Linked DNA regions of Homo sapiens: regions 2, 3, 4, 5, 6 and 7 are each linked to region 1. Evidence: promoter capture Hi-C in 16 types of primary human blood cells and fetal thymus (Javierre and others, 2016). All regions are on one chromosome and are shown on one strand. Each heading gives the region's core, a stretch centred on a gene start or on the middle of the fragment in contact. The rest is flanking DNA. Distances are from core to core; before and after follow the strand shown. Region 1 holds the start of CFAP300 (cilia and flagella associated protein 300). Region 2 holds the start of MMP13 (matrix metallopeptidase 13). Region 3 holds the start of MMP3 (matrix metallopeptidase 3). Region 4 holds the start of MMP1 (matrix metallopeptidase 1). Region 5 holds the start of MMP8 (matrix metallopeptidase 8). Region 6 holds the start of MMP27 (matrix metallopeptidase 27). Region 7 holds the start of MMP20 (matrix metallopeptidase 20).

The links. The method cuts DNA at HindIII sites, captures the fragments that hold promoters and counts their contacts. A CHiCAGO score of 5 or more calls a contact.
Region 2: the fragment with the promoter of MMP13 here is called in contact with the fragment with the promoter of CFAP300 in region 1 in 11 of 17 cell types (total CD4 T cells, M2 macrophages, monocytes and 8 more); the score reaches 13.2 in total CD4 T cells.
Region 3: a contact is called between the fragment with the promoter of MMP3 here and the fragment with the promoter of CFAP300 in region 1, in 6 of 17 cell types (M2 macrophages, total CD4 T cells, monocytes and 3 more). The highest score is 10.1, in M2 macrophages.
Region 4: a contact is called between the fragment with the promoter of MMP1 here and the fragment with the promoter of CFAP300 in region 1, in 9 of 17 cell types (neutrophils, fetal thymus, M2 macrophages and 6 more). The highest score is 12.9, in neutrophils.
Region 5: the fragment with the promoter of MMP8 here is called in contact with the fragment with the promoter of CFAP300 in region 1 in 9 of 17 cell types (total CD4 T cells, naive CD4 T cells, non-activated CD4 T cells and 6 more); the score reaches 18.3 in total CD4 T cells.
Region 6: the fragment with the promoter of MMP27 here is called in contact with the fragment with the promoter of CFAP300 in region 1 in 11 of 17 cell types (total B cells, total CD4 T cells, megakaryocytes and 8 more); the score reaches 19.8 in total B cells.
Region 7: a contact is called between the fragment with the promoter of MMP20 here and the fragment with the promoter of CFAP300 in region 1, in 14 of 17 cell types (non-activated CD4 T cells, erythroblasts, activated CD4 T cells and 11 more). The highest score is 15.1, in non-activated CD4 T cells.

What each region holds. Positions count from the first base shown.
Region 1 is chr11:102,045,725-102,049,020 of GRCh38, forward strand. CFAP300 (cilia and flagella associated protein 300) reads left to right here and starts at 1,713. Exons shown (of 7, transcript NM_032930.3): 1 at 1,713-1,856; 2 at 2,091-2,172. The coding sequence starts at 1,747. The HindIII fragment of the contact is 7,683 bases long and covers 1-2,611 here.
Region 2 is chr11:102,954,482-102,957,777 of GRCh38, forward strand. MMP13 (matrix metallopeptidase 13) reads right to left here and starts at 1,251. Exons shown (of 10, transcript NM_002427.4): 1 at 1,105-1,251; 2 at 771-1,012; 3 at 1-125. The coding sequence starts at 1,224. RefSeq lists an enhancer at 684-1,883. The HindIII fragment of the contact is 7,221 bases long and covers 1-1,757 here.
Region 3 is chr11:102,841,898-102,845,193 of GRCh38, forward strand. MMP3 (matrix metallopeptidase 3) reads right to left here and starts at 1,712. Exons shown (of 10, transcript NM_002422.5): 1 at 1,545-1,712; 2 at 775-1,019; 3 at 534-682; 4 at 257-382. The coding sequence starts at 1,649. The HindIII fragment of the contact is 9,261 bases long and covers 1-3,296 here.
Region 4 is chr11:102,796,452-102,799,747 of GRCh38, forward strand. MMP1 (matrix metallopeptidase 1) reads right to left here and starts at 1,709. Exons shown (of 10, transcript NM_002421.4): 1 at 1,537-1,709; 2 at 805-1,049; 3 at 563-711; 4 at 213-338. The coding sequence starts at 1,641. It also overlaps the pseudogene WTAPP1. The HindIII fragment of the contact is 10,818 bases long and covers 1-3,296 here.
Region 5 is chr11:102,723,364-102,726,659 of GRCh38, forward strand. It overlaps MMP8 (matrix metallopeptidase 8), which reads right to left and starts at 1,591. Exons shown (of 10, transcript NM_002424.3): 1 at 1,391-1,591. The coding sequence starts at 1,492. RefSeq lists an enhancer at 798-1,997. The HindIII fragment of the contact is 5,644 bases long and covers 1-3,296 here.
Region 6 is chr11:102,704,305-102,707,600 of GRCh38, forward strand. It overlaps MMP27 (matrix metallopeptidase 27), which reads right to left and starts at 1,465. Exons shown (of 10, transcript NM_022122.3): 1 at 1,309-1,465; 2 at 233-471. The coding sequence starts at 1,410. The HindIII fragment of the contact is 3,149 bases long and covers 1,265-3,296 here.
Region 7 is chr11:102,623,740-102,627,035 of GRCh38, forward strand. It overlaps MMP20 (matrix metallopeptidase 20), which reads right to left and starts at 1,593. Exons shown (of 10, transcript NM_004771.4): 1 at 1,455-1,593. The coding sequence starts at 1,580. The HindIII fragment of the contact is 723 bases long and covers 1,060-1,782 here.

The sequences.
Region 1 (3,296 bases), core at 463-2,962:
CATTAAAATTAAGAATTTCTGAGCATCAAAGCTACAGGCAAGCTACAAGCAAAGAGAATGTTCGCAATATGTATATCTGGCAATGGGCTCATATCCATATTATATAAAAACTTCCTAAACATTAGTAAGAAAAAGACTGACAACCCTTCTTCCTCCTAATGGACAAAACACTCAAATAGGCATTTCACTAAAGAAGATATCCAAATGACCCAGCATATTGCAAAGTTGCTCAGCAACATTAACTATCAAGGAAATGCAAACTGAAATCACAATAAAAAATTAATACAAACTCCCTAGAATGGCTAAAATTTTAAAAGACTGGCAATACTATGTGTTGGCAAGGATGTTGAACAACGGGAAATCTCATTCATTGCTGGTTGGGATGTAAACTGATCTTTAGAAAACTTTTTGACAGTATGTAGTAAAGCTAGACATACTTATGCCATGTAACTGAGCAATTCCAATCCTGGATGTATTTCCAACAGAAATGGTGCATAAGTCCATCTAAAGGCATACACAGGAATGTTCATAGCTGCTTTCATAACAACCTCAAAGAGGAAACAGCCCAAAAGGATAAACTGTAGTATAGTCAAGTAACAGAATACTAAACATCAATGAAAAGGAATAATCTATCTCTCTCTCCCTCTGTTTCTCTTTTTTGTCTTTGTTCCCTGTCTCTTCTTCTGCTAATGCTGTTAAAAAATAATCAAGTTCTTAAGGGCTAGGGGAAAAGGAGAGAAAGCAACGAGATGGAAAAGAACTATCCCTCCATTCTGAAGTCCAAATGCACTGCTATAAGGCAAAAATAAAAACCATAGAAACAGGCCGGGTGCGGTGGCTCAAGCCTGTAATCCCAACACCTTGGGAGGCCGAGGCGGGCGGATCACTCGAGGTCAGGAGTTCGAGACCAGCCTGGCCAACATGGGGAAACCCTGTCTCTACTAAAAATACAAAAACTTAGCCTGTAATCCCAGGTACTCAGGATGCTGAAGCAGGAGAATCACTTGAATCCGGGAGGCGGAGGTTGCAGTGAGCCGAGATCGCGCCACTGCACTCCAGCCTGAGCAACAGAGCGAGACTCCATCTCAAAAAAAAAAAAAAGTAGAAACGAAGATAATTTTCAATAGAAAATAAGAAAAGTGTGTTTTCTATTAAACAGCACGCATACCAGAACAAAAGTGGTCTAAAAAACAAAAATAAATAAACAGCATGTTGTAATGTACTGTGTATGGAAACATTTTTTTTTTTTTTTTGGCCTTCAAGTGTACATTTTAAGGAAAAAAAAAAAAAAACAGATGGTAAAACAGAATAGTTTCCTAAGTAGTCACATAGACATTTGTCTTCCAAAATAGATAAACCTAATTAATTCAGAATAATCTTTTCTTCAGAAACGTTTGAGTCATCAAACGTAGATAACTGTAAATCTGAGGTTATAGCTCTTGAGACTAGAATATTAACCCATGCTGAGTAATTATTATTAAAAGTTAATGTCAACAAGTATCGATTGGCAATTTGTCTCCATCCCCGACCCCTAGTTTCCCTAACCGCCAAGCCCGGGGTTGGGGAGTGGAGTGGCACAAGCTCCTGGGAAAGACAGGCTAACCTCCCTCCCTGCACCCGCGGCGGCAAGGCCGGAACTCCTGGGTCCCTAGAGACGTGTGGCCCCGCCCCCGCAGCGTCGCTCCGACACGACGGCCGCCGCGTCTCCATGGAAACGGCCCAGGCATCCACCCAGCCGAGAGCACGATGGCTACTGGGGAGCTCGGGGACTTGGGTGGCTACTACTTCAGGTTCTTGCCTCAGAAAACCTTCCAGTCTCTGAGCTCTAAGGAGATCACCAGCCGGCTCCGCCAGTGGTGAGGAACCGAGGCACAGGGAGAGAAGAGGCCCTTGGTCTTCGCGGCTGTGGAGGCGCAGGCCGGGCGTCGAGGGGCCCGCGCGGGTCGGCGCCATTCTGAGTGAACCCTGAGGCTTCCTGAGTGAACCCCGAACCACCCGGGAAGGGCGGATGCTGTGGGTGGGATCGGTTATCGGTGCGCTCTGAGAGGGTGCCAGCCCCCAGATGATTTCTTTTTCCTCCTCTGCCCCAGGTCCATGCTGGGCAGAATCAAGGCGCAGGCGTTCGGCTTTGACCAGACCTTTCAGTCCTATCGGAAGGATGATTTCGTTATGGTTAGTATGGGGGTCGGAGAGTTCCCTGGGTCTCTGCGGATTTTTAAACTTCCCCCCAAGTTGGCATAGATTCTTGTGAACACGCTATTCCTTACTGACGTCGTTTTCTTGGCGTTTGGGAGTAATAAAAGGTGCAAATGATTTTTTTAAAGGAACTTTTACGTTTCGAATCAGTCATCATAAATTTGTTTGCCATTTAGTTCATTCTTTCTCTACTTTCAGCATCTTGTATCTTGCCTCGGGGAACTTTGCAGTTCTGGAAGATCGCGCGCTCTCTAGAAGATTAGTTTCTCCCTTTGTTTATTTTTGTTTCATTTTATTTTGTTTTATTTTATTTTATTTACTTATTTTTTGAAACAGGGTCTTTCTCTGTCACCCAGGCTGAATAAAGTGCAGTAGCACCATCTCAGCTCACTGCAGCCTGGACCTCCCGGGCTCAAGCTTCCTGAATAGCTGGGACTACAGGTGCAGGCCACCACGTCCAGCTAATTAAAAAAAATTTTTTTAGAGGCAGAGTCTCACTATGTTACCCAGGCTAGTCTTGAATCCCCGGGCTCCCAAAGTGCTGGGGAGTACAGGCGAGCCACCACCCCCAGCCTCTCTTTTTCAATAGGCACATCTCATTTTAAAATATTTTAAATATTATCACACAGCTTTATCGCCGCTTTATTTACTAGCTCCAAATTACTTTCGATTTTTTTCTCAACATCACACCCACTCTGAGAACTGGGCTTCAGGCTCTACCAACAGTTCCAAATGAGGAATTCCCCCAAAAAAGTATGAAGCCGTAGCACAGTGATTTGAATAAGTCTTTTGACTACTAGAGGTGACTACTTTGAGAGAGGTAAAACTCACTTGAAAGTTTAAGTTTTGGTGTGTTTGTTAAAATTTAGTCCATTATTTTCAATCCTGTTTTTTTTTTCTCCTCAATCAAATGGAAAATACTGTTACAGTTTATGAAGTTATCTTCATTCTCTGCCATTCATGTCCTTCATGCATTGACTGTAGTTTATAGTTTGGCATAACAAACACTTCCTGAGGGCCTATCATGTGCTAGGAATTCCTTCCAGTGCTGGGGATACGAGGAGGAACAAGACAAGAGCCCAGCTGTCAAAGATTGTACG
Region 2 (3,296 bases), core at 1-2,500, 910 kb after region 1:
TGTCAGCAATGCCATCGTGAAGTCTGGTAAAATTCAGAGGAGTTACATCGGACCAAACTTTGAAGGCTTTTTTGAATGCCTTTTCGACTTCAGAATGAGTCATATCAGGGGTGTAATTCACAATTCTATTTAACAGAGAAAGTTTCAATGAACTTTTTGGAAAGTGACAGCTATTTTAGAATACATTTTCTTGGTATATTGCTTTTCAATTCAAAATGCAATAATTTCTTTGAAAGTTCTACTAGAGGTTTATTGTTTCAAATAATGTATTAATTATGATGCCATACAAGAATAAAAAGTCAAAAATTCAGCCACATTTGAGTATCTCCAAATATCTGACCATGTGGCATCTTAAATTTAAAATATTCCAATGTTTAATATAATTTATTTTGCATGCTAAAAGTTTAGATTACATTGATAAAGCTCAAATAAATGAAATAGCTCTGTAAAGTTTCTAGAAAGAGTGGAACTCTTCATCTTGAGCACTGTTGTAATAAATACACCTAATGTACTATGTTTGCAAATTTTCTTTAACCTACTTTTATTTCTCTTTTGATTTCATCTCTAAAAGAAATACTTTGAGATGCCCACTAAAAAATAATGCTGAGTTAATGTAACAATAATAGATGTTATGAGGTATTCTCGGCAACCATATTAAAGCTATTCTGGAATTTAACTGCCAATTAAATAATAAGGCCTACTTAATATTAGACATTTAATACTACAAGAAAAGGCTAACAAATATGAAAGAAAGATAGCCTATGATTTACCTGTAGGTTAAATTCATTTTGGACCATTTAAGAGTTCGAGGGAAAACATTGTATTCACCCACATCAGGAACCCCGCATCTTGGCTTTTTCATGACATCTAAGGTGTTATCGTCAAGTTTGCCAGTCACCTCTAAGCCGAAGAAAGACTGCATTTCTCGGAGCCTCTCAGTCATGGAGCTTGCTGCATTCTCCTTCAGGATTCCCGCGAGATTTGTAGGATGGTAGTATGATCTCAGGTAGCGCTAGAAAAGACACCAAAATGAACTGCGTTTAAAAGAGAAGGACATTTCTGAGATGTACCAACCGCATCATCAGGATTGGCAAGATACTCTACCTCTGCAAACTGGAGGTCTTCCTCAGACAAATCATCTTCATCACCACCACTGGGAAGGGGCAGGGCCCGACAATGAGTCCAGCTCAAGAAGAGGAAGGCAGCCAGGACCCCTGGATGCATCTTGAATGGTGATGCCTGGGGACTGTTGTCTTTCCGCAGAGATTACCTTTACTTTTATAGGCCTGCAATGGTGAGTCATCACTTATGGATAGGTTTCCACTTCCCAGTCACTTGAAGGTAAACATGCTTACGTGGCGACTTTTTCTTTTCCCTCCCGAGTGTGGTTTGTGGTAGAATTTGAGGGAAATATAAATGAGAGCATCTCTTGTTTCAGCAGGGTCTCAAAACCCATCTGGCAAAATAAACGGCCTCAGCATATTTATGGATACTGTGGGAAGAAGCAGAGAGTAGTACATTTTTTACTTCACTTAGCAAAATTTTTTTTTTTTTGCCTTCTGTAAGAACGTATCTACTTTTGCTTCTTCGAATAATAAGTGTATCAAGATGGCATGTTTACTTCCATAAAGAGAAACTTAGTACTGATTCTAGAATGTTTACTACTGCCTGGTAAATTATAAACTGCATTTTCTCTAGAATAACTACAGAGAGATGTCTTGTGTCTACCTGAAGTTCACGATATTGGACCAAAACCAAGCTTGATGACTTGGAGGTGCTACGGCACAACCGCAGGATTGAGCCCCATGGTTGGAATTTAAACACACTGGCATGACCTCTCGACAAATATGGAGTCCTGCATAAATTCCCTACAGATTCAGACAGAGGTAGAAGAATTACATTGGAACGGAACAACTGTAATGGCTAGCACAAACAGGGATTACTGCATTCTAGGTTTAAAAGGCATTATCTCATTTAATCCTTACAACAGCCACATAGGTGCTGTCAGAAAGCTTGTTTTCCATTTTACATATGAATAATCTGATACACTGAGAAGTTAAATACTTGTATACGGTCATATAGTTTATAAATGATACCAGGATTTGAACCTAGGCCAATAACTCAAAACTCAATGTTCTTGACCACCGTCCCTGTCTAATTATGACCTCCACCCTTTCCATTCTCAGATATTTTCTTAAAAGCTGAGCTGTTTGGTTCCTACACCTCAGGGAGTGCCCAAGAAAACTAGGGCTGCAGTAGGCCAATTTCAAGTTTCTCAATTTTTAAGTTTGAATAATAGAAGTAATCTTGGTCCAACCATCAGGAAAATAGTCCTAGGGGCCTCTACCCTATTATTCCTTTCAGAACATCACACATTCAGTACCGTGAAATCAAAGTGCCATCTTTGGTCCCCTGCAGAAGTAAATGGGTAGAGCAATATAGGCCATGATCTTTGGATTTATTGGACTTCTTTAAATAAATGATTGGAAATGCAGGTTAATTTGAGTGACTAAGAGTCAGAAAGAAAATGCTGCTCAGGTCAGGAACATAGTAAGACAAAGAGAAGGAGCATGAATACAGCTTTAGGGTGAGTACGAAATGGGTATCCTAACATATGAGTAAAATCCTATAATCTAGAGTAGCCAGTGCCTTAGAGAAAAATCAGAAAAGCCTACAACATGTATGTGATCATTTGAGGGAAATTTACTATATGCCTTTATCCAAACAAAATACAGCCAAATATACCCTTTCAAATAGATTGTTTCCAGTGAGTTCAAGATTAGATTGGTGCTCAATCAGGAATGCAAAGCAATAATTTATTTTAAGTTGCTTCCATGTATCATAATATTTAATTTTGAGATTAAGTGAAAAATTATCCAAAAAAGTTTGATTCATCGACTAAGCTTATAAAAGTTAGTTTATTAGAAAGCATTTGTTTTTACAAATAAATTTTCATAATATATTAAAATCTCATTAGATAAGAAGTGCTTAAGAAGCTGGAAAACAAATAACATTTTATTAAACATTTGAAAGTGGAGAAAAAGAATCAAATAGGCTAACTGTTCTTATAGATTTTCACATATTTGTAGAAATGTTACTACTTCAAACTAGAAGAAAAGAAGCTTTTTTATCTATCAATTTAATGAATATATTAATTGAGCATCAACCATATAGGATACCATGCTAGTGTCTATGGAAATGAAATGAAGGCTAAAATGAGGGCCTTTTTCTGAGGATCATTACAATATTACCTCCCCCATTAAAAAAAACATTTTTAATAACAAATGAAAATAAAT
Region 3 (3,296 bases), core at 462-2,961, 800 kb after region 1:
TACCCCTAGATCACAAAGATCCAGTCATTAAAGAAATACTTAATGATATTTCCTATATTGTGCTTACCAATATAGGAAAACTGTTAAAGCATCTGAAAATATTTTCAATAATAATTAAAACAAAAATATATTCTGCTGATCTCTGATCCACTGGAAAATCCAGAACATCTCATTTCTTGAGCATTCTTGGTTATTAACAGATTTCTACATATAAAAAAATTAATGCCAAAATCATTCTGAGAGATGTGTAACTAACCTGTTGTATCCTTTGTCCATTGTTCATCATCATCAAAGTGGGCATCTCCATTAATCCCTGGCCCAGGGGCATAGGCATGGGCCAAAACATTTCCAGGTCCATCAAAAGGGTAAAAGTCTCCATGTTCTAGTAGGAAAAAAATTTATTGGAAAGATATGTAACAAGGATCCCTTTTGAGCCTTTTCCAGTACAACAACACCAGATAGATGAATGGATACATTTCATGTGTTTTTTGTTTTGTTTTGTTTTGCTTTTTTTTTTTTTTTTTTTTTTTTACCTCTAACTGCAAAAGAGATCATTATATCAGCCTCTCCTTCATACAGCCTGGAGAATGTGAGTGGAGTCACCTCTTCCCAGACTTTCAGAGCTTTCTCAACAGCAGAATCAACAGCATCTTTTGGCAAATCTGGTGTATAATTCACAATCCTGTAGGAGAAAAATTGAAGCAGATGCTATTTTCTCCTATGATATAGTTTATAAAATTCCAATCTTATGTGAAAACCCCTCTGAACCATTACCTGTATGTAAGGTGGGTTTTCCTCCACTTCGGGATGCCAGGAAAGGTTCTGAAGTGACCAACATCAGGAACTCCACACCTGGGCTTGCGCATCACCTCCAGAGTGTCGGAGTCCAGCTTCCCCGTCACCTCCAATCCAAGGAACTTCTGCATTTCTCGGATTTTTTTAACAACAGGACCACTGTCCTTTCTCCTAACAAACTGTTTCACATCTTTTTTGAGGTCGTAGTAGTTTTCTAGATATTTCTAACAGAATAAGTATAGTTTTTAGGTCACTCTTACAATTTTTACTATAGCTATCTATTTATAGTAAGTTTTTGCAGTTGCTCACTTCTTAATCTATTTGGAGTATTTCTCTAGCTTGCTGAAATAATGGCAAATTTTATAATATGATACTAGCAACACAAATATTTAGCTAAAATTACGTTGCATTAAAAAAAAAACTGAAGCTGTTCCAAAGCAAGATATGGTTCATCCACTCTCCACTTGTTACTCATGTGCCTTAAGCCCCAGTGCTGCTACTGCTATGGTGTTGTGTGATCTTAAGAAAACACCTAATATTTCTGGCCTTTGTTTCTTCCTACATAAGAGGAGAAGCCCAAATGGTGTGATAATGAGACCTTTTCCACTTCCAACACTCTATAACTCTCTATTCTTGAACTGTTCCTACACAGTAAGCTCAAGCATTCTATGTGGGTTTTAAGACACACAGAATGGTTTCAGCTTACTCTGGAAGCTCCCCACCTGGCCAGGTCAGTTAGTGTTAATTACCTGAACAAGGTTCATGCTGGTGTCCTCACCCCTTGCAGCTCCATCCAATGGATAGGCTGAGCAAACTGCCACGCACAGCAACAGTAGGATTGGAAGACTCTTCATTTCCACTGGCTTTACTTAGCTCTATGTTGTCTCTATGCCTTGCTGTCTTGCCTGCCTCCTTGTAGGTCCAACCTCGGGAGCGCAGCTTTTAAAGAGTGACAGTGTTTGTTTGGATCACCCGCAGCTTGACTCATCCTTGCTTTCATCCAAATGGCAGCAGGACCATTTCCAAACATTCCAAATTCAAAGTAGGATGATACAACCTACTTTACTAATTTCTCTCAACCTTCCCAATTTTGCAAGGCAACACAGTGATTAATCTCCAGGAAGTGCTTCCTGTCTTGGTAGAGGAGAAAACTGGAGCATTTTTTTTCTTCTGGAAAAATTGACTGGAATTCACTAGACAATTTATGTTTGTCCTTTTGAGAGAAGAAGTAGGTTGACTTGGTAAAAATCAGAATTGTGCAGAACTTCTAAAAGCAGTTTTATTTTAAGAAACACATTATAAAAGCAAATAAAAGATGTAAGTGGAAAGTGTACATACATAGCTATAGTCTATACTATATACAATTATACTCAAAACATAAAAGATAATATCTAGAAGAAATTTAGAAGGGGTGATTTATTTTTCTGAATCTGATTTGTAATGCCTGCTATTGACTGTCGTTGGATTTGCTGGTTCTTGAGGAGGAAAACCTCATGGGCAGAATAGAACAAAGAGGGTCTGTGAAAAAGAAGGAAGTATATTCCCTTTGGGTTGGTTTTAATTCTGTAACCAATTTATTAATGGGTGATGGGCCCACGTAGCTGCTCCATAAATAGTTGTAGAATTGAAATGAATTACATTGCTTACCGGACTGAAATTCTCTCTGTCCTTGTCTTCTACACATGTCTTATTCTCTTTCAACCTTTTCCCCTCCTCCCTAAATTCAAATTAGCAGATGCTTTGAAGTTGAAGAACAGAATCCATCCTAAATTTTCTCTTCATGCTCTTCTGTTTTCTTCCTTTCCTTTCTTTTCTGTTTCTTTGTCAAGTAAAGTGTTGCTCACATTATTGGTGTATAATAAATGCTTGAATGCAAGACTCTAAACATATTCAGAGGAAGACATTTTGTAAAACTTTTATAGTCCTCTTGCCACCTGCCACCATCCATCTCCTCAATGCTTCCCTGATCACCACATTTTGTTTGTTCTTTCTTTCTTTGCTGACTTGCTTATTTGTTTGCTAAAGGGAAGAACATCTTGGGAGTAAGAACTCAGTAGAATGATGGATACAAATGTGCATTTATTAGACCTTTAATAAGTGCCCATTTTGCTTCCTCTCATTTATAACTCTTTTGCATTTTCTTCTTTGCTTTATTTTTTGTGTGTTTCTTAATAAACATTGGAGAGATTTTACCCAATAAGTTTAAAGGGATTTCTCTGTGGCAATAAGATCCCTATGACTGAAGATGCCCACACAGTTGATAGCCACTTGGCAGGGGGCTATACATCACATTTAAGCCTTCATTTTTAGACTAGATTATGTCTAAAGACTTTTTCAAATTTTATTTAAAAAATAGAGACAGAGGTTTCACTATGTTGCCCAGGCTGGTTTCGAGCTCTGGGCTCAAGTGATTCTCCTGCCTCAACCTCTCAAAGTGCTAGGATTACAGACATGGGTCACGGCACCTGGCCTAAAGACATTTTAAAACTAGTATTCTATGG
Region 4 (3,296 bases), core at 459-2,958, 750 kb after region 1:
AAATTTTAGAGTGGCCTAGTTGTCACTGCTAAGATGTTGTTAGCTAGCAGAAAAGACCGCTCTTTCACTTTTCTAAGTGTATCACTAATTTTCTGAGTGGTAATAGAAAAATATATACTTCTATGAATGCATTCTTTCAACTAAATCAACCAATATTACAATGAAACATGAAGGGGTGGGAGAATTGAGAGAGGCAAATTTGATTGGCTTACCTCTGAAATTGTTGGTCCACCTTTCATCTTCATCAAAATGAGCATCCCCTCCAATACCTGGGCCTGGTTGAAAAGCATGAGCAAGATTTCCTCCAGGTCCATCAAAAGGAGAGTTGTCCCGATGATCTGAAAGAAACAATTCAACAAAGATTCCTTGTGGTTCTTATGTAAGCTAAGCCAGAAGGGCAAGCATTAGCTTTGTTAAGAGGCCAACAGACTTCCATCAACTGTGATGCAGTTTCCCTCTTCGAGCCCATAAAATCAACATTCATCTTAAACAATCAATTCCAGTTGCAAAGCTACGAGATCTAGGGGCAAGGTGAGGTTAAGGTGCTATAAGAAGAACTTACCTCCCCTGACAAAAGATATCATGATGTCTGCTTGACCCTCAGAGACCTTGGTGAATGTCAGAGGTGTGACATTACTCCAGAGTTGGAAGGCTTTCTCAATGGCATGGTCCACATCTGCTCTTGGCAAATCTGGCGTGTAATTTTCAATCCTTAGAATGAAACAAAATAGAGACACATTGGACATGACTTCTTACCACTGTCATGGGAAATAGCTCTCTCACTCTGGCCCTCAGTCTGCCTACCTGTAGGTCAGATGTGTTTGCTCCCAGCGAGGGTTCCCCTCAGTGAGGACAAACTGAGCCACATCAGGCACTCCACATCTGGGCTGCTTCATCACCTTCAGGGTTTCAGCATCTGGTTTCCCAGTCACTTTCAGCCCAAAGAATTCCTGCATTTGCTTCAATTTTTCAACCACTGGGCCACTATTTCTCCGCTTTTCAACTTGCCTCCCATCATTCTTCAGGTTGTAGTATTTTTCCAGGTATTTCTGACAAAAGAAAATTATCGAAACACTGCATGGGAAATCTTTCTCATTATTCTAAAAATTGATGGCATTAAGTTTTAGCCAAAACAGAGAACTGCTTTTAAACCTTGTGTTTAGATTTCGCAGTTGCTTTTATCCTTATTTTTGGTGAGAAATGAAATTTCAGAGTAGAAATGTCCCTACTATTAGTTATTGTGAAGTAAGAACTTCATAGTAGAGCAATTTTTGTAGAGCAAGATTTGCATACTGTTACAAGTCTACAATTTGTGGAGACAAGTTTGGATGTTGTTCCTTTAGTTCACTCTCACCTCCAACTGGAAAAAGAGAGCGTATGCATGGCTAGATACATTTTGGGTGGAGGGTGCTGTTTCTAGCAAAAAAAAAAAAAATCTCTTTATAAGAAACCTATCCTTAAAAAACTCTATTACATTACTGCAGAAAAATACAAACTAAAAATTTACATTATTGTCACATGCAATGCAGCATTTACCTGGACTAAGTCCACATCTTGCTCTTGTGTTTCTAGAGTCGCTGGGAAGCTGTGAGACACCACACCCCAGAACAGCAGCAGCAGCAGTGGAGGAAAGCTGTGCATACTGGCCTTTGTCTTCTTTCTCAGTGCAAGGTAAGTGATGGCTTCCCAGCCTCTTGCTGCTCCAATATCCCAGCTAGGAAGCTCCCTCTGTATATATAGAGTCCTTGCCCTTCCAGAAAGCCAGAGGCTGTCTGACTCATGCTTTATAACATCCTCTTGATTAGCTATGAATAGACTAGGCAATCATTAGAAATGGTGACTCCTAGCAGATTATTTGGAATCACTTGGTGTTGCAATGTCATGATTAACTTCAAACAAGATGTGTGCGAAGGAGACACACTCTGCCATGTAAACAGTGGTTTTCTCCAATTCATTTCTTTCCTATTTGAGAAAGGTTCTTGTTATATACACAGGTCAAAGAGTACTCCATGGTCTTTTTGAAAAAGACTGGTTCTGATGGTCATAAAGTGCTACAGGTTTCTCCACACACCTTGCTCCCAGGGCAGAGGGTGGAATTACTAACACTGCGCACCTGATGGCTGTTCGGCACCTGTACTGACTGAAGTTCAGCTCCCCCAGCACTCACTTTACGGTGGCTCTTCGGGGTTCTCTGAGGTTCCCTTCTGCCTTTGTTAAGCTGCCTGGTACCCTATTGCGATAGCACCATGGCTTCCCTTAATCTTTACTCAGAGCCAGGCATGGTGGCTCAAGCCTATAATCCCAGAATTTCAGGAGGCCGAGGCAGGGGAATCACTTGAGCCCAGGAGTTCAAGATCAGCCTGGGCAACATGGTGAGACCCCATCTCTGTAAAAAACAAACAAACAAACAAACATTTTTTAAAGTTAGCCAAGCATGGAGTCATGCACCTGTAGTCCTAGTCACTGAAGAGGCTGAGGTGGGAGGATCACTTGGGCCTGGGAGGTTGAGGCTGCATTGAGCTGTGATTGTGCCGCTGCACTCCAGCCTAGGCAACAGAGAGGGACCCTGTCTAAAATAAAATTTGAAAAAATTTACTCAGGCCTAGGATTTAAGAGCCTTACCTGAGAAGACCCCTCATCCACAGGCGGAGTATGAGATAACTCCCCACCCCTTGCCCATCATTATCATGGGACAAATAGGATCCTTCCCTGAAACTTGTCTGAATGTACCGGATGATGAAAAGGCTGGAAAGAGACTGAGCGTGACTCTGGGGTCTTATTTTTAATCATACTTGTTTCCCTTGATATGAGTCTATCTTCGCTCCTTGGTGCTAGGCAGCATTTATTTATTCTTTCATGTATGCATTCATTCATATATTTATGCATTCCTCCATTCAAAAGATCTTATTTAGCATCTCCTGCCCATTAAAATAAATACATGGCTCTGTAATGAAAGATGTGTATTCCTGTACTTATGTTCCACATTAAATTGTCTTGGGTACTGGTGACCGGTGTCACCAGTGCTATCTGTAGCATTCCTGGTAAGAAAAGTTGGTTTATCTCTGTAGCTCCCCTACTCATGCCCCACTCTCCTTCCTTGGAAGCATTTATTGAAAACATACAGTGGAGAAACACTGGCCTGTTTTATCACTTCAGCACCTTATGGTGTCTCCCACCTTTCCCACTGTATCAGGTTTGCTTTTCAACACTTTCCTCCCCTTATGGATTCCTGTTTTCTTTCTGCGTCAAGACTGATATCTTACTCATAAACAATACTTCAGTATATCTTGGATTGA
Region 5 (3,296 bases), core at 341-2,840, 680 kb after region 1:
TCATGCTGCCTGTGAACACCTGGCACCTTGTCAGTGTCTTAGTCCATTTTCTGTTGCTATAACAGAATATCTGAAGCTGGGTAACTTATACATAAAAGGGGCTGATTTTCTCTCACAATTCTGGAGGCTGGGAAGTCCAAGATCAGGTGGCTGCATCTGGTTGGCTTCTGAGATGGCCTTGTGCTGTGTCATAACATGGCAGAGAAACAAAAGGGGAGCAAGCATGTGTGAAAAGGGGCAAAACACAAAGGGCAGCCCCTCTTTATAATACCCATTCTATTAATTACTAATCCAGTTCTGCAAGAGCCAGAACCCACTCCAGCAAAAATTAATCCAGTCACACAAGAGTGTCATTAATCTTTCTTAATGACCTAAGTACTTCTTAAAGGACCCACTGTCACATGGGCTACTAAATCTTTAACACATAAATTCAAGGGACACACTCTAACCACAGCAGTAGGTGACACTGACCAGATCACACGCTTTGGAATCAGACAGGCCTGGGTTCAAATCTTAACTCTGCCATGAATTAACTGTGAGCACTTGGCCACATTATTTATCTGATTTAAGATATTTTTGTCTCTGAAATGAAAATAATAATGCTCCAATAAGGTTCTTGTGAGGATTAAATGAGATATTTGTGAAATGTGTAGCAGTTGCCTTGCATAGAATAAGCACTCAATGGACTTTACATTAACCCGGGGGTTACAATTAAGAGATAACCTCTTAATAATAATAATGCTTTCTCCAAACTATAATGCTAAGAAAACTGTGCATGAGAGATTTGTGACAGAATTCCCTTGTGTTTCTTAAAAATTTGGGTTCACTTTCAGACTGTGAAACAATGGAAAAAAACTATTGGTTCTGCTTTTATAATGCTTCCAAGAGTTTATAAACAGTCCACAATCTGATGCTGGGAAATATGATTTTACTGTGTACTGATTTCTAGTTCATTGTAATCTACCATCCTCACATTATTTTCTATATCTGGAATTTTTGGCGGCAAAGAAAATGCCTGTATGGAAGCACCAGACATATAGTAACTTGATTGCAGATATCCTGGAAGGAAAAACCTTAGGTAAATGAGAAAGAAAATGATACCATTTTATAAATAAAACCATTTCTTCTACAAAAGTTTCCCAACTAGGGGTAACTCTACAGCAGTATTTTCCCAGCCTTTAAAGAATTCAGCTTGTTTTCATGTCCGGCTTTTAAAAGGCCTAGTCCTTACCAGCTTGGAACCCTCCAAATCACTAAAAGGAGATGTTCAATCTCAAACTAATCACCCAAATAATTTCTTTCAGGCTGTTTTAATTAACAAGAGAAAACAACCCACACTATTTCCTAATAATCAGCAAATCAAACATCACCTAACTGATAGTTCATTTACCTGAACAGTTTTTGTATTTTTCTCTTTAGAAGATACAGGAAAGGCCTTGGAAATCTGCACATGGAGTAAGAGCAGAAATGGAAGCGTCTTCAGGGAGAACATGATCTTCTCTTCAAACTCTACCCCTCCTGGCTTTCTTTCTGTCCCTCTGGGTAGGGCCCTTCCCTGGCGAGCACCCTGACGTTCACAGCATCATGTGTCACTCACAGCTCTCTTGCAGTCCTCTTTAAAGCCATGTCTTAAACAATTGCTGCATCAGGAATATGAAGCAACATAGGTTAATTACACTCTGACAGTTTTGCAATTTTATAATGTGATTTAGTACCCCCAAATGGGGGAGTCTTTCAACAGTCTTTCAAAACTCCAACTTTCTACTCTTTGCTTTTGGATGTTTTAGTTATTTCCTTTTACAAAATTGGTTGAGGAAAAGGAACAAGGGACTAATCCTGAAGTTATGTGGATACATTTTTTGACTATGTAAGATGTTGAGGTTGAATTAACTTATGCAGGGGAATATTTTGAGGTTTGTGGTAGATATCTTGGGACCAAGGAGCCCAACTAGAGAATCTCTGTACTTACCCTCCCTCATTGTATGTGGAGAGAATGAGTGACTGTGTTATTACAAAGCAGGCTTTGTATGGGGCCTAGAGCTGCTTCTGGAGGATGTGGTTTGGTATCAACATATTAGAAAATCCCTAGTCTATAAGTTAGACTTTCCATGGAAAAGATAAAGAGAACAATACTGATGATGATAATAATGAACATTTGCTAAAAAATTATGATTGCCCAGACATTTGTACTGTGTTCCACATATTACCCCAATCCATCTTCACATAGCCTTGGGAGGGAGATGCTATTACTATCTCCATTTTACAGATGAAATCAAATCCAGAGACATTTAGATGACCTGTTTAAGTCACATGTTTCATTTGTGGAGGGGCCAGGATTCAACCCCAGAGGGTATGTTTAGAGAGACTGAGCTGGGAGCTACTATAAGCTCTGCATGGTAGTCTCCCACTTGAGTCTCTGGCTGGGCCATAGTGGAGCAGCAGCTCTAGGCCTTCAACAGCTGGATACTTTGGCTTATATTCACAGGCAGAAGACAAGGGAGAGGGAGAATGAGATGTTGTACATCTTCAAGGAGTAAGACACTGAGAGATTTCCAGACAATATGGCTACATAGGAGACTGTTTGTCAGAGGCCCCTGGGCATGCTTTTCAAATCATGTAACCTGGTCCCACTTATTCTGAGTCCACATGCATGTAGTTTGTTATCATACACAGTCTTTGTGAATACTCATTTACATATATGCATACATATTTGGTAAAGGCAGGTATTCTTGTGTATAAATGCATGTGTCTACATGTATGATACATAGCATGTATTAATATGTAAAGAGTGTATTTGAGATGCTATGATAAGGAGTTCTGATCTTTCCTGAGGTCACTTAGGAACTTTGAAAATGATCCAAAGAAAGGTGTCTTGGGTTAGAACATATCTGGACAGCAGATTAATGTTAATGATGTATATTCCTACATTCATTCAGTAAACATTTCCTGTCATCTACTACATGCCACATGCTGTGATGGGTGCTAGAGTATTGGAGATAAATTAATAGAGGTTTGGATAAAATGCTGTGGGTGTTTGGAGGAAACAGCAGTGGTGTGGAGGGAGTGAAATCAAGGAAGGTTTCATGAGGGAGGTGGAATTTGAACCGGATCATGAAGAGGTAGAATGTAGACATGCAGAGATGTAGCAACCCATTCTTTGTATTAATATAAATGTGACAGCTTCCTGCCAAATTGTTCAAAGATCACGGTCATGTTCATCCTCCTTGAGTTCATGGCTTAATGTGGCTTTCTTTACATTAGGTCTTTGGTGAAAAAATGCTTTTTCCTCCACGAAA
Region 6 (3,296 bases), core at 215-2,714, 660 kb after region 1:
GTGTAACCTCAGCCACGGTAAATAAACTTTTGTTTCAGTTTCTCTGTATTTAAGATGGTGGTAGCAGCAGAGCCTACAGCACAGGTTTGTTGGGAAGATACCGTAAATGGAGCCTAAGATGTGCTGTGCACACAGGAAGTGCTCAGTCAATTGAATGAATATTATTCTGTTCCTTGGAAATTATCTTTATGTTCCTTTGGATTAGGCGGAAATAAGCTGGCAGAAGCATTACCTGTAGGTGAGGTTGTATTTTCTCCACCCAGGGAGGGTGTAGCCATACTGGCCCACATCAGGCACCCCACACCTGGGTGTCTTCATGATCTCAAGGGTGTTTGAGTCCAGTTTTCCAGTCACTGTCAATCCAAAAAATGCTTGCATTTCCCGAATTTTGTCATCTATGAGACTCCTATTCTTGCTTTGAACAAGATGATTCCCTTCTATTTCAAGAGAGTAGAACTGGTTGAGATATGCCTGACCAAAAAGATAAGAAAAAAAAAAAAGAGGCACAGACTACAGGAGAGCAAATCTCCATCTCAGGATAAAGCAAAATTGCCTAAAATTCCTTCTGGCAATAGGAAAGGGGAAAAAAAAGAAGTAATGAGAGAAAGTGAGGAGTGAAGGAGGAAAGAAGAAAGGAAGGACACAAAGAGGAAAATAACGAGTCACCCTGCTCTTTCAATTTCCAAGACTTGGTTGACTTATGAGTGACCAGAATTAGCCAAAGCACGCAGCTCTTAAACCTCCACAGAAGAGAATGAAGCTTCGTCTGTCTGTTGAATGATGACCTATCTTACATATTTTTGCTGTTACTTTCATTTTGGTGTTTCTTTGAAACAAGTTCTAGGATAAATAAGTGATTATCCATTTTGCACATGTATTTGCTTTAACCAAAAATAAAAAGTTAACTGAACTGATTTTTAGAGGGAATCTGTAAAGCAATGTATTTTTTTTCATACATATAGGGATTAGGGCTCCAAATTGTAGATTGGGTCCTCCTGGTTGTCTTGAAATGCTTTTATAGTGATCTCCATACCTTGCAGGGCTCTCTCCTTTCTCCTCGCACTAAACATCCCTTCATTTGTGACCATTGCTAAAAGTTATAGCAGATCCTTTCCCCCTCCCTGTGCCAGCCCTCCTCCCCAACACAATTTCCTGATATCGTCAGAGATAGACAAATGAAAAGCAGTTCCTTCTCACAAAAAAGTTCAGGACTCTTTTGCAGGAATGTGTTTTCTTTTTAGGTCCCAAGAGAATCAATAAAATAAGCTTTTTATCAATAGTCATCGATATCATTTATTAAGACAGTACCTGAGCCAGTTGCATATTTTCTTCATTTTCCGTCATCCGGACTAAGGGAAATGCAGAAGAAAATGTTATAAAGAACAAAAACAGAAGCAGAAGGCGCTTCATTCCTCTCTTTCTTCAGCTGAAGCCGGTTCTGTTAGCACAGAATTTAGAAAATAATAGTGAGACGTGGCATGAATTGGCTTGTATCATCATTTAATTAATAACAGAAAGGGACACTTGCCATAAAGTGTGTCATGATTTGCTTTTTTTTTTTTTTTTTTTTGACTGAGCTGATTTTGTAATCTTGGCCTGCAATTGTTTAGTAAACACAGTTAGTGCTTATTACTGAATTGAATATACTGGGAAGTGAGCCTCCAAGTTATTTTTTTTTCCTTGCAAAGTTTTCTTTTGAAGGCAATCTCAGAATATCTTGGTAGGATGTTATCATAAAAAGACAAATGAATCAGGAGTCAGATTACCCTTATTAACTAAGATAAACTTCAAATGTTTATTGAATTCCTACTGTTTGCCTGCCCCTGTGAATGCAATCTTGTTGGAGAATTCAGACACATACAGAAATTAATGTAGGACAAAAAGGAGGCAAGTGGGCAAATACACAGTGCAGATTGTAAAGACTAAGAAGGGCCAAAGGCAGATCATTGCTTATGAGTGTGGCCTTGAGGTTTTATGCAAGTTAAATACAGCCTGCACTGGGGCTTGCACTAGGGCTTGCTCTGGGTTTTGGAGAATGTGTAGAATTTGGATTTACAGAGGAAGGAAGAAGAAGTATGAGTGCAAAGAGGCCATGGGAAGGAGGTAACACAGCAGAAATAAGCTGCAGGAAATCTGGCCTGACTGGAACAAAATACATATGTAGACAGCTATGGAAGATGGGATGGAGGGTCTCATGGACAAGACAGCTGACTGGGAAGATGAAGAGTCATAGAGGTCATGGATGATGAAGGCCAAAATTAACATCAGAAGTGAGAATATAGTTAGTGAGAGCCTTTTGGATTAATTTCAATATATTCTTCTTTACTTGGGCTACTTTTAGATGAAGGAACAGTCTTAGTTACAGCAATGTCCTCCCTCACTTGTCCTCCCCTTTTCTTCTACCAATTATTAAAATTTTCTTCCCTTTCTTCCCAAATGTTAACTCCTCAATCGATACACCTTTCTAAATCTTCCTTGTCCATATCCTAAACAAAATTTATATGGCATAGCTGAGGAACTTATAGGATCTAAGTAGATACATACTTCCTTTGCATTTAAAGCTCATCCCAGTTATAAATCTTGTTTCAGAAATATTATTATTTACTGTTTTAATATATGTATATAGTTTAAATTGTTTAATTGGCCTCTGGAGCAATGGGATGAAGGGGAGAAGGCAGACATGATCAGGATTTGTGTTATAATGGTATTAAGTACAAGTATGCTAAGTACAAGTATGCTCATTGTATTGTTCTTTTGTGTTTTTTAAACTCTAAAATATTTCAGAACAAAATTTAAAAAAAAATAGAGTTACCAGAAAAAGGGAAGTCAAATGGTGCTATCTTGTTGTAACGAAAAAGCATCTCTCTGCCCTAACCTTTCGCTCCTTCAAGTCCTGCTCCCCAAAGGTAACTTCTTTAAATTATTTTTATAGCTTTTTATCTTTATGTTTAACTCCACATTTGTAAATAACGTGCTTATGCTACTATTTCTCGAGTTTTCAAAGTTAAATGTTATTATTAACATCTTCCTATGGAAAAGAAGGACTTAACACTCCTTCTGCTTTCCTAATTTGGTTATAGGAATGTTTAAGCCCGTAATCAGCGTTCATACAATTATGACCATGAAAATATTATTCACAAGAGAATCACGTAGTATACTATGATTACATATCCTTTTCTTTTTTTTCCCTTTTTTTTTGAGACGGACTCTCGCTCTGTCACCCAGGCTGGAGTGCATTGGCACAATCTCGGCTCACTGCGACATTTGCCTCCCGGGTTCAAGCAATTCTCCTGCCT
Region 7 (3,296 bases), core at 343-2,842, 580 kb after region 1:
CTGAACTGTGGATTAGAAGGGGGGTCTCCCAACACCTCAGATCCATTCTGGCCTCAGCATGGCTCTCCTTCTGGAGGTCACAAAACCTCTTTAGTTTCAGAATCACAGTGGCATGAGGCAGGGTAGGGAAAATTACATTTGGGAAGAAGGCACCTAAAGCTAGGTGGCATGGACAAAATACAATTGAATAAGGATCCCAGTATCCTGAGTTATTTTGAATTTAGTTCATCTAAAAGTGGGCTAAAGTCAAAAGAAGTTCAGTTCAACATGGTTGTGCTGGGCATCAGCTGTGCTGTTCATCTGCGGGGCTGATATTTAAGTGTTTAATGACTGGTATGGCCGGGGAACTGACCAGTTAATAAGGATGAGTGGCAGAAACAATCGGTAGGGACATGCCATTGCACATGGGTGCAAATCAGCTCTACGATGCAGACAGCCAAGCGGTACACAGGTGCAGCCTGGCAGTCAGGAAAGCAGCCCTGAGGCGGAGCTGGTGATCACAGATGTGCTGTAATGTTGGCAGACTCTTGAAAGGGAGGCCTGTGTGCAAAAGCATTTCCTCTATATATCTTTCACTAATGTTGGAAATTCCATCCGTAGACATCCATTTCTTTAGGTTAAGGATGCCACCCTTCTTTTAAAAACAAAACACGCTTGGAAGCATATATATATATATATATATATATATATATATATATATATATATATGTAGAAATCATTTTGAGTCAAGCAGTCTTTGTGAAATATTTGAATATGGATCATTTCTATCAGACCCTTTCCAGCAGTCATAGAGGAGAGATCTCAAAAGAGGAAAATACACAAAGTTTAAGTACATAAACGTTGTACTTTGTACTTACTACATAAACTTTGTTATGTACTTTGTACATAAACTTTTACTTCATTGGGGAATATGCTTTAGGGAGAAAAGGCCTTCAAATGAGAAGTGGGTTGGCACCCAGGAAGAACTTAGTCCACTTTAAATTTTGATCAGGGTTACCTTGAATATAAGAGCCATTTAAAAAGTGGAAACACAGGAAATCTCCTTGTTGTGACCGCTAAAGCTTAGCACTAAATTCACAACCTGCCTCTAGCGTGTGGATTATGCCTCGGTTTTTATTTTTCTGCTTCTATTTTTCCTCCTACATCATTCCCGGGAAGTACTTGTTTGCTCCTTTTATATTGCATGGTTTTCACAAGCCACCTGGAATTCTTTATGAAGCAAGATAGCTAGGTAGATATATCCTCATGTATTTATTCAGTCATGTAACATGGTACACCTAATATGCACCAGACACCAATCTAGGTGGACAGAAGATAGCATCAGTTAGACTTCAATGGACTTATATAAAATGATTTTAAAAGAACAATAGAATTTTTTTCTTATTTTCTCACTATGCCCTTTTAGGTTTTCTAGGGCAGAGGAGCAAGAAGGAATTGGGCAAAAATTCACAAACCTGTGCGAGGCGGTAGTTGTTCCTCCAGGTCCTGGGGGAGGCTGCAACTAGGGAGGGGGCTGCAGTGGAAAACTTCAAAGCCATGATGAGGAAGACAGCAAGGCCAGATGCAGGGAGCACCTTCATCCCCTCACAGTAGCTTGGTAATTATATCAGCCTGGGGGATGGCAGACAGTGCACGTTTGCACTTCGACCTTGAGCTCCTTTTATAGAGTCAAACAGGTCTGGACCCTCCGAGCAAGGATGATTCATGTCTCAAACAGTAATTATACAGCTCATTTCTCTCCCTGATGATGGGGTAACACAACTGTACACAGGAATCAGGGAAAGCTTCATATTTTTTTTGTTATTTACCAAGTGGCAAAAGGAGAAAAACAGTCACTTTTAATGAAGTTGGTCAGCTAGTTACAAAAATTGAAGTAAACTTGATTGATTTGAACCCAACTCAACTGAAACATTTGATTAGTCTTCATTTGGGGGCCTTTTTCCATTCTGATTACAGAAAAGTTAGATGATTACAGTATAATTGAATTTGTCCTCCAAGTAATCCCAAACTCCCCATGCATTCAACCCAATCGCCTGTATCTCCTGCATTCACTTCAAAATTTCTTAGTAGCAACTGCTGTTCATAATGATGGCTCTGAGACACATAAGATCCTGAATCATCAAGGCAAGATTACATTATACTGTGCTGACTTAGGGTGGAAAGTGAACTGGTAACTGTTAGAAAGCTTTTGGATGAATTAAGGCAAGAGTTACGTCTTCGTTAACCAAAACAATAGCCAGAACTCCCCAATCTCTGTGTACTCTGGTTAATTGGAGTCATATTGTTTTTCCTGGGTCTGATTAAGATGGATTTGGATCCAGAGATGATACGGTGAAATGGTGTCATATGGTGGGAAAAGCACTTAGAGTCAGACAAAGCAAGACTAAATATTTAAAAAGATATTTCCTAGCTGTGTGATGTTGGGTATGTCATTTAATCTCTGAATATCAAGTTTTTTTTAATCTACAAAAGACTGACAATACTACTACTATGTATAAACTTTTCAGTGTTATGGAGTAACACATATAGCATGACATCTGCAAGCACCACTTGGCATCCACTAGATGTGGATTCAAATCCTAATTTTGATTTTAGACTAAATTCAAGGTTATTCCTATAGTGAATACAGTGAATTCCTATAGTCTTTCTCACTCTGTTGCATTTTGATATGCTTTCTTTGCATGGAAGAGAAGATGGTGGAGTTACAGCCAATGTTTGGTATCTAGTGTACAACCCCAGGCACTGAACAAGAGTTTGTCACACATTAATATGGTTTGGCTCTGTGTCCCTAACCAAATCTCATCTCGAATTGTAATCCCCATGTGTTGAGGGAGGGAGGGGATTGGATCATGGGGGTGGTTCCGTCATGCTGTTCTCATGACAATGAGTGAGTTCTCACAAGATATGATGGTTTTATAGGTGTTTGAAAGTTCCTCCATTGATCTTCTCTCTCCTGCTGCCTTGTCAAGAAGGTGCCTGCTTCCCCTTTGCCTTGCACCATGATTCTAAGTTTCCTGAGGCCTCCCCAGCCATGTAAAACTGTGAGTCAACTAAGCCTCTTTCCTTTATAAATTACCCAGTCTCGGGTATTCCTTTATAGCAGTGTGAGAATGGACTAATACACACAGGCAAACAGAATTTCTGGCATGTACTGTGAGATAGACAAAACATGTGTCTCAGAAGAAGAAAAAAGAAAACCACAGATTAGATTCATTCAACTAAATTGTAAGCTGTTTGAAGACTGTATTCTAAAAAATGTTACTTAATCAAGTTTGTTAAAAAAAAAGAATGAATGA